Regions from separate parts of the Homo sapiens genome. Here region 2 is linked to region 1. Evidence: promoter capture Hi-C in human tissues and cell types (Jung and others, 2019). All regions are on one chromosome and are shown on one strand. The core of a region is centred on a gene start or on the middle of the fragment in contact, and the rest is flanking DNA. Distances in the headings are between cores, read along the strand shown. Region 1 holds the start of CACNA2D1 (calcium voltage-gated channel auxiliary subunit alpha2delta 1). Region 2 overlaps CACNA2D1 (calcium voltage-gated channel auxiliary subunit alpha2delta 1).

Region 1 (4,256 bases), core at 1,145-3,644:
ATTAAATAATCAATGTCTTATATAATTTGAAAATATCTTGAATTTTCATCGTTAAAAAAAATTTCAGATCCTTCCAAAGAAAAGAAATTGTGATGTCCTACTTCCCATTTTAACCCACTATATATACTCTTTCTTGTGTCTAGTAAATTTCTGACCATGAAAATTGATTTACTTATAATTTTAGGAAAGCATTATTGCAGATGTTCTTCTTAACAATAAGGATTTTTACATTAATATTTTACCACAGTATGTTGAGGAATAAAAGGTTGTATTTTGTTGTAGTTTTCCCCAATGGTATGATGATGTATCCCCTCCCATGATAAAAATATTGATAAATTGTCAGTTAAAAACAACACTGTAAAAATGAGTAATCGGAACACATTTAGGAAGTGATTGTTTTTTAAAGAGCCACTTATTTATTTGACACAGAATGCAAGCGACTCATTTGAGTTCTCACTTTACAGGCCAAGCAACAAACAGACTTAAAAAATTAAATGGAAGTGTGATGCCTTAATAAGAGTAAATAATTCTGAAGCATCCTTAGGGTGATTCTTACTCTTTTTATGTTTAAAAATATCTGACTGGAACATCCTGCCAATTAAACGAAGATCTCCAGATGGCATTTACCCTTTTGCTTCATAACAAAAAGGATCTGCAATCAGTTTTATGGAAGATTATCTAAAGAGGAACATTACTGTAACTCAATGACAACAAAAATTAGACACTCCCCTTCTCCGGGATAGAATGTGCATCCTCCAGATTCTTGCACTGACACCTAAGGTAATAAATACTTAAAACTGAATCTTAAATAATAGCCGCAGGATTTCAACCGCTAAAGATTCACTGTTACTTTCCACCAAAAACTCCTGTATTCAGCACTCAGCCAACAAAGGACAGCAAGTAATTCCCAGCAGCATAAATACCGGGAAAGCTACCTTGGGCTTTGTTTTTGTTATGTAAAATGCATTAAAGTGACTCATCCACTTAAGATTACCTACCTTTAGAAGCTTTAAAGAAGCTCCAAGAACCAAAATAAATGCTTTCCCAGAATGCCGGATAGGCTATTCGGTGCATTAAAAAATATGTATATATTTATATGTGCCATTGAGTTTGATTCTATTTTGCTAAGAAAGGAGAGAATTATTATTTTTCATTCCCTTCCTGTGGTGTGACTATAGCTACCTATAAGCCCTCTATTTCCAGAACAGCAGCGAGGTTTTTAAAAGTTATTTTAGAAATGGTAAAAATAAAAGAAAATTTGTAGGAGACTGGAAATAGTCCCTCCTTCAAAGAATAGGCTCTATTCATTTGAAGAACAGGGACCGCGTGTCTGCCGACACTTAGATGTTTCAAATAATGGGTTGGGGAGGTTGGATCGCGTGGTCCCAGTACCTGCGAGCCCCCTGCGTGGACAGCACGCTCGGCCGCGGGGAGCCAGCACGCGTCTAATCGGAAGGCTGTCAAGTGCATCCAGTAACGTGGGATAAAACGAGTTTGGGCACTACAGCAATTAAAGAGCATCTCCGAGGCCAAGTGCGGGGGAAGTCCACGCTACCTCGGCAAGCCTGAAATTACCTGTTTGTAAATTACCCAACCAAAACATAACTTTTTATTGAACTGGGTTGAATCAGAGCGGGTGAGCTGGCTGGAAACTTTTTTCCCCAGTACGGCTGCACTCTGAAGTCTAGAGAATCCCGTTAGAGACGGGCTGAGACGCCGCGAGTCGTCGGCGGGCGCTTCCCGGGACAGTCGGCCCCCAGTGCCCGGCCCCGTGGAGGCGCCCGAGACGCCGGTTCGGGACGCATTCCAGCGGCGAGCGGCGCGCACCGCCTGCCCGGCGTCTCCGCATCCGAGCCTGGCTCCCCGGCCGCTCGCTCCCCACCCCCACGGGCGGAAAAGCCCCGCGACTCGGGAACCGACCCCCACCCCCAACTCCCGCGGCGCCCCTCGGCCGGCGCTCCCTGCCCGGCCCGCCGACTTACGTGACGGCCGAAGGGAACGGCTCCTCCGACGAGGGGCCGATGAGCAAAGATTGGAAAAGTGTCAGAGTCAAGGCCAGCAGGCAGCCAGCAGCCATCTTCGCGATCGAAGATCAATGCCCCCTCCCTGCCCAAGCGGGGGAAGGAGCGGCGCTGGAAACCGCGGGCGGAGGAAGAGCAGCACACGCCGCCGGGACCGCGGGCGTCTGGAGGGCTGGCTGCGCCCGGGGCCCGAGGCGCGGAGCCGCGCGGGGGACGGCAAGGGCGGGAGCGGACGCCGAGGAAGGGGCGGTGGCGGGCGGACCCACTAGCGTGCGTCGGCTGCTCCGCGCCGCGGCCGCCTTGCCTCCGCCGCCATCAAGGGCGACTTTGGAAACAGACCTCGGCGAGCCCGCCGGCGCTCGCGCGCTCTCGCTCTCCCTCTCGGTTTCCTCCCTGATTTATTCCCCCGATTGCCGAGGCGAAGGCGGAGGCGGGGGCGGGGGCGGAGGAGGGGTGACGGCGCTGGAGGGTGGGGGTGGCTGCAGGAATCGGGGAATGGCAGGCAGAGAGACTTGTGGAAGCGAGAGGCTCCGTCTGGCTTCTTAGGCAAGTCAGAGGGAGGCGGCTGGGGGTGGGCAGCGGGAGGGCTGGGCGTCAGAGCAGTCGGGCGGAGACGGGCCGGGAGCAGCCCTCCATACAAGGCAGCCAGGAACTCCCAAAGTCGGCGCCGGCTCGCTCCCGCCGCCCGGCGTGCGCAGGCGGAGCGGACCAGCCCCGCGGGGCTCCCGGGGGACGGCCAGCCGCCCAGCGGGCATCCACAGGCTGCAGAGGCTCCAACCCAGGACTTGGCTCGCGTCTTCGGGGGTTATTTTTGCACATGCAGGCAGCGTTCCCCCCCAGCCCTACTCCCAGGCGCAGAATCCAGTGCCTGCCTGGGAATCGTGAAGTGATTTGACAACAAATGTAGGAGGGGTTTGTATTGCATTTTAAAGCACCACTGTTGACTCTCTACCAGGTGGCACTATATGCCCGCGTGTGCCATAGGTTAGAGCCTCTGCCGGGGCTGGGTGCCCTTTGTGCCAGCGGTCCCACGCCCAGGTACTGCTCGGCTCACCTGGCGAGGACAGAGCCTCAGGGACCGGGCTGTGGACGGACAGAGAAGTACTGACGCTGTAAAATCTTCCCAGCCCTGTGGTTCCATTGGACAGAGGGGTGGAGGGACGAATTCTGCATCTAGGGAGGACAGTAGTAAGAGAAGCGCTTTGCAGCATCCCAGTTGGGACTACCTCCAAAAGGGTCCTAACGCCCTGCTCTGGCCACTGGCCTGCCCTGCCTGACAAGGTTACCGCAGGGTGAGCTCACTTTTGTCAATGCGAAGGCATGAAAAGGGTAAGCAGCAGGAACAGGTGGCACTCTGAGAAATGCGCCTGAAATGTAGAGGAGGAATTAAGGGAGGGGGAGAGAGCTAGGGAGTAGCAATGCCGGACTGGTTTTATCTCCAGACTCAGAGGAAGCAGTGGCGGGCTTTCTCCTTGAAAAGACAGGGTCTGCGACTAGGCCTCTCCCGCCCAACACAGGCCTCCTACAAGAGGGCCCTGGTGGGCCAAAGATAGAAATATATTCTTGCACACCTTAAATTCTTAAGCTCCCTCTAGTAGTGTATGAGAATACTTTTGACATGACGTGCAGAGAATACAATTTGTGATGACTATCCTGCATATGCAAAAATTCTGTAAGTATCGGGGTGGCTGTCAGATTTTTAATTAGCCCGTTCTTATTTTTAGGAGATGCTTCTGAAAGAAAAAGACCCTTATTAATTCGAAATGAATTTTCCAGCTCTCTGAAGGCAATCTCCCAAAACAAAGACTAATAATAATACTACTACTATTAATTACTGGCCAAATTTTAAGAGCGTGTGTGATTTTATGATGCTTAGCCTGGTGAATTTATTTTTCCTTCCCACTTATTTCTCCTTTTTTTAATGCCTTATTTGTTTTCTTTATGTTCTTCGCATCTCTGTCTTGCTCTTTGTTTCTTTCTACTCTGAGTGGCCTCACAAAAGGCACCCCACCGTGACTTAACTTAGTTTGTTTTATGCTAGGCATGGATACTGTGGCAGCAGGAGCTGCGCAAATGAGGGATGAAGTGGGATGTAATGGGATTGAGAACTACAGCTCAGGAGGGATATTTTATATAACTGAAGATAGCATTCCACTCCAAAATTAGATAAGTAAATAGTCAAATCCATCATTTCTTCCATTTTTAATAATTCAAAAGCAGACTTTCTTCCCCAGC
Region 2 (3,901 bases), core at 1,111-3,610, 59 kb before region 1:
GTAGCTGAGGCCTAAACAGAGGCGTGCTGGCCCATTCACAGAGACTATTCAGAGAACTGCTAGGGGAGGGGAGTGGGCAGTGGGCGGGATGGCAGTCCTCCAGAGAAAAAAGGAAAGTGACCCCTTAAATCAGAGAATGACCTTTTATTTGTTATTAGTTGTCTAAGTAAGTGTAAGGGGACCACCTCCTCCATAATGCGCTTTGTGAAACGGTAAATGTTACATGGCCTAAAATGGTGCTTCTGAAAAGATTAGATGAATTATTGGTATTTAAAACTAATTAAGTGACATGTTCAGATATCTAGACAGGGCATAAAATCTATTATATAACTGGTGTTCAAAAACATTTACTGTTTGTTCCACAAACAAGAACGTAAATGTATTTGGAGACATTTCTGCATGAAATATATCATGGTAACAAGGGATTTACAGAACACTTACTAAGTTTCTCACTAAGGTTTGACATTCAGCCATTCAATACTTCTGTTGAAATGGTATTGTGATTTCTTCTAAATCTTCAGCTCCACAGTTGTAAAAGAAGGACTCACACTTATATTTTATCTAGTAACCTAAAAGTCAGCAGAAATTTTAAAATAAACCCACTAGGTATATTTACACATTTGCCGTTTAGAACACAGCCTTGAACAAGAAAAACAGATCATAAGTCATGTTAGGTATCTGTCTGCACTAGACAAGTTTACAGAAATTGTTCTTCAGTTTCTTTTATTGAGATTTTTGGGCCACTAATCTGTTCCAAAAGAGAAAAAAACTGGCCCTGAGGCTCAACTTTTCCATCCCAAGGATGCTTGTAGGCAAGACTGCCAGCGGTACCACTGCCACTCTGAACTAAAAACTGCTTGCCATTCAATTATTCATATTCAGCCCTTCTAGGGGAGAGAAAGCACTAAAGAGAAATAGAGCAGCAAAAATGTAGACATAGAAAGTAGGAAGAAGATTTGTAATAGTTACATGGGAAAAGGGAATCACAGAAGAATGATGTTATTTAAAATAGGTGATAGAACAGACTCAGGAATTCCAATAAAAATGGACAGTACCCTTGGTCTTCATACATACAAAATGAAATAGTGGCAAATATGCTCAAAAAGGTACACAGTTCCGTGAAATGCTGAATTACCTGATCCTCTCAGAGTAGGAACAAGCCCAGTATTTTTAATGCTTTTGGTTTATCACCTGAGCTGTGCCAGGCACCCACCTCCACAGGAACTTTTATCACTTTGCCTACATTCTCCTATTATGAGTTAAGTATATTTGATACCAATGTTTATTTACTAATATACACATGCTAGGTGACTATTTTGTTCAAAGTTCTTTCCATATAAATTAAGATTTCCAATACTGACAGTAGCAAACATTTATAAAGTACCTCTTCACACTGACACATGTAGATTATCAAAATTTTACACATTTGAAAAAAACAAATAATTATTTAGAACAAACAAGCCAAAGCAGCTGCTGCAAAAATATGTGAGTCTATATGAGGTACATTTCCACCATGTAAAGTCAAGAGGCTGTTGAAAATAAGAAATTGTGAGAGATACAGAAAAACTACCTCCTTTTCGGTTATAGTATATACTGAAACCTCTCATTTATCACATTTCATCTGACTAAAACCAAGAGAATTAAGGTGACAATTGAAGACGTCACCAGGGGTATTTTGGTTTTGGTTTGAATGCTGTAGACTGAATTGTCTCCCCCAAAAAATGTGTATGTTGAAACCCTAAACTCCAGTGTGTCCGTATTTGGAGAAGGGGCCTTTGCAAGGCAATTAGGGTTAGATGAGATCATGAGTATGAGGCCCTCATAATGCATTTAGCAGCTTTATAAGAAGAGAGAGAGAAAGACTGTTCTTTCTCCAGCATGTGAAGACACAGCATGCAGGTAGTTACATGCAAGCCACAAAGAGAGCTCTCACCAAAACTTGAATGAGTCGGCACCTTATTCTTGGACTTCCAGCCTCCAGAACTGTGAAAAATAAATGTCTTTCATTTAAGCCACCCAGTCTATGGTTTTTCTTATAGCAGCCTCAGCAGAGTTGTAAAATATTTTGAAATTAAAAAAAAAATCACTGGTAAAGGAGAAGTGAAGAAGAAGAAGAGGGAGGAAAAGTGAAGTGAAGAAGAGGGAGGAAAAAAGAAAAAACTTTTGTCTGGAAAGAACTTGTTTTATAATGTGAAATAAACATTTTGTTAAATGCTAAGGATAAAAGAAATGTAAAGCTTGTTTGTCTTGTATATAAATGACAAAAATGGCACTTTTCATGTAATTTGAGATCAGTAGACGTTAGGACAGAAATCAACAAAAAATATATCTCACTGCCAAAAACAGCAGAGATGGAGTTCTTTTTTACTGAATGTTGATGCAAGACACAAGAGAAAACTTTGGGGCATGATGTAAGAATCAATTAATGCACATAAATGGAGCATAAATCACATTAATGTATTGCAATGCTCTTGCACACTTTAGCCCCTACTGAAACACAGGCCTAATATAAAAGCTTTCTCCTCTGTAGGCATTAATGACTCCCTCCCCTTCCTTGTCCCAACATCTTTTATGAAACTTCACCACTGCACAAGACAATGAACCTAAACTCCAGCCTTCCCTCTGGATTGCAAGCTACTGGAGGAGCACGATTGTATGTTGCTCAGCTTATGCTGTGCTCGTCTGTCCCTTTCTGTCCCTGCTACTGGCCATCCAAAGAGGCCGGAATCTTCACTCCCACTGCTGGAATAAGAAAGTTCAGAATGTCAAATTGAAATGGATCATAACTTACTACAGAAGGAATTATTAGTTATTTAGAGAAAAAGACTTTCTCATACATACTTTTTCTCCCACATCTCCACCTCCATCCTCTTTCCCTGATGCTTACAAATGTCTTCCACTGATGCTCATGACGATAAATGAACACAAAAGTCTGGTGATAAAATATAGTTGAAATAGTCCATTGTAACCCTATGTGGTACAATATGGGTTAAATTAGCTCTACAAACTGGTGTGGGAACCTGTTGTTTTAATGCTAACATATTGTCTGTTTTCCAAAACATTTTTGCAAATGTATTTTTGGAACACTACAGCCAGATACCACTTACACTAGTACAGTTTCAGACATTATATTTAAGGGGTTTTTTGGTTGTTTTGTTTTGTTTTGTTTTGTTTTGTTTTTTTGAGACAGAATCTCTCTCTGTCGCCCAGGCTGGAGTATAGTGGTGCAATCTCGGCTCACTGCGACATCCATCTCCCAGGTTCAAACAACTCTCCTGCCTCAGCCTCCCGAATAACTGGGATTACAGGAACCTGCCACCATGCCCAACTAATTTTTGTATTTTTAGTAGAGACGGGGTTTCACCATGTTGGCCAGGCTGGTCTCCAACTCCTGACCTCAAGTGATCCACCTGCCTCGGCCTCCCAAATTGATAGGATTACAGGCGTGAACCACCATGCCCAGTCTATTTTTATTATATAATATGAGCTACATTCTAGCATTAATATTTAGGTTTAGAGTTGTAAACGCATTAGAAATGACTGAACTAGAATTTTTTTCAGGTAATTTCAAAATATTTTTGGTTCTTGGAATGACTATGCATTCTTGGAATCCGCAAAGTGCCCTGGAGACCACCAGCTACCATTAAGTAAGCAGCAATTCTGCCTGTTGAAATGACAATACCCACTGCAATAACTGCATTCAGCAAGGGGAAAAAAATACTATAGTACTGCATATTCTTCCCTTTTAATCAGGCAGATTCTCAACTCTTACTTTGAGCTGCATTCTCCTATGGACACTTTTACATAAAATACAACCAAACATCATTACAAAGGTCAAAATATACTTTGGAATACATTTGCACATGAGATTGAGGGGAAAAATTAGTTTTTGTTTCAAAAT

Evidence for each region. The method cuts DNA at HindIII sites, captures the fragments that hold promoters and counts their contacts. A contact is called where the count stands out against the background at its distance.
Region 2: a fragment that was not itself captured here is called in contact with the fragment with the promoter of CACNA2D1 in region 1 in 2 of the 25 tissues and cell types used here (IMR-90 fibroblasts and neural progenitor cells).

Annotation. Positions count from the first base shown.
Region 1 is chr7:82,441,383-82,445,638 of GRCh38, forward strand. CACNA2D1 (calcium voltage-gated channel auxiliary subunit alpha2delta 1) reads right to left here and starts at 2,395. Exons shown (of 39, transcript NM_000722.4): 1 at 1,983-2,395. The coding sequence starts at 2,077. RefSeq lists an enhancer at 837-1,400. The HindIII fragment of the contact is 9,545 bases long and covers 1-4,256 here.
Region 2 is chr7:82,382,500-82,386,400 of GRCh38, forward strand. All of the region lies in intron 1 of CACNA2D1 (calcium voltage-gated channel auxiliary subunit alpha2delta 1), which reads right to left. Among named protein-coding and RNA genes, the nearest start is that of CACNA2D1, 59 kb to the right of the region's middle. The HindIII fragment of the contact is 5,768 bases long and covers 1-3,901 here.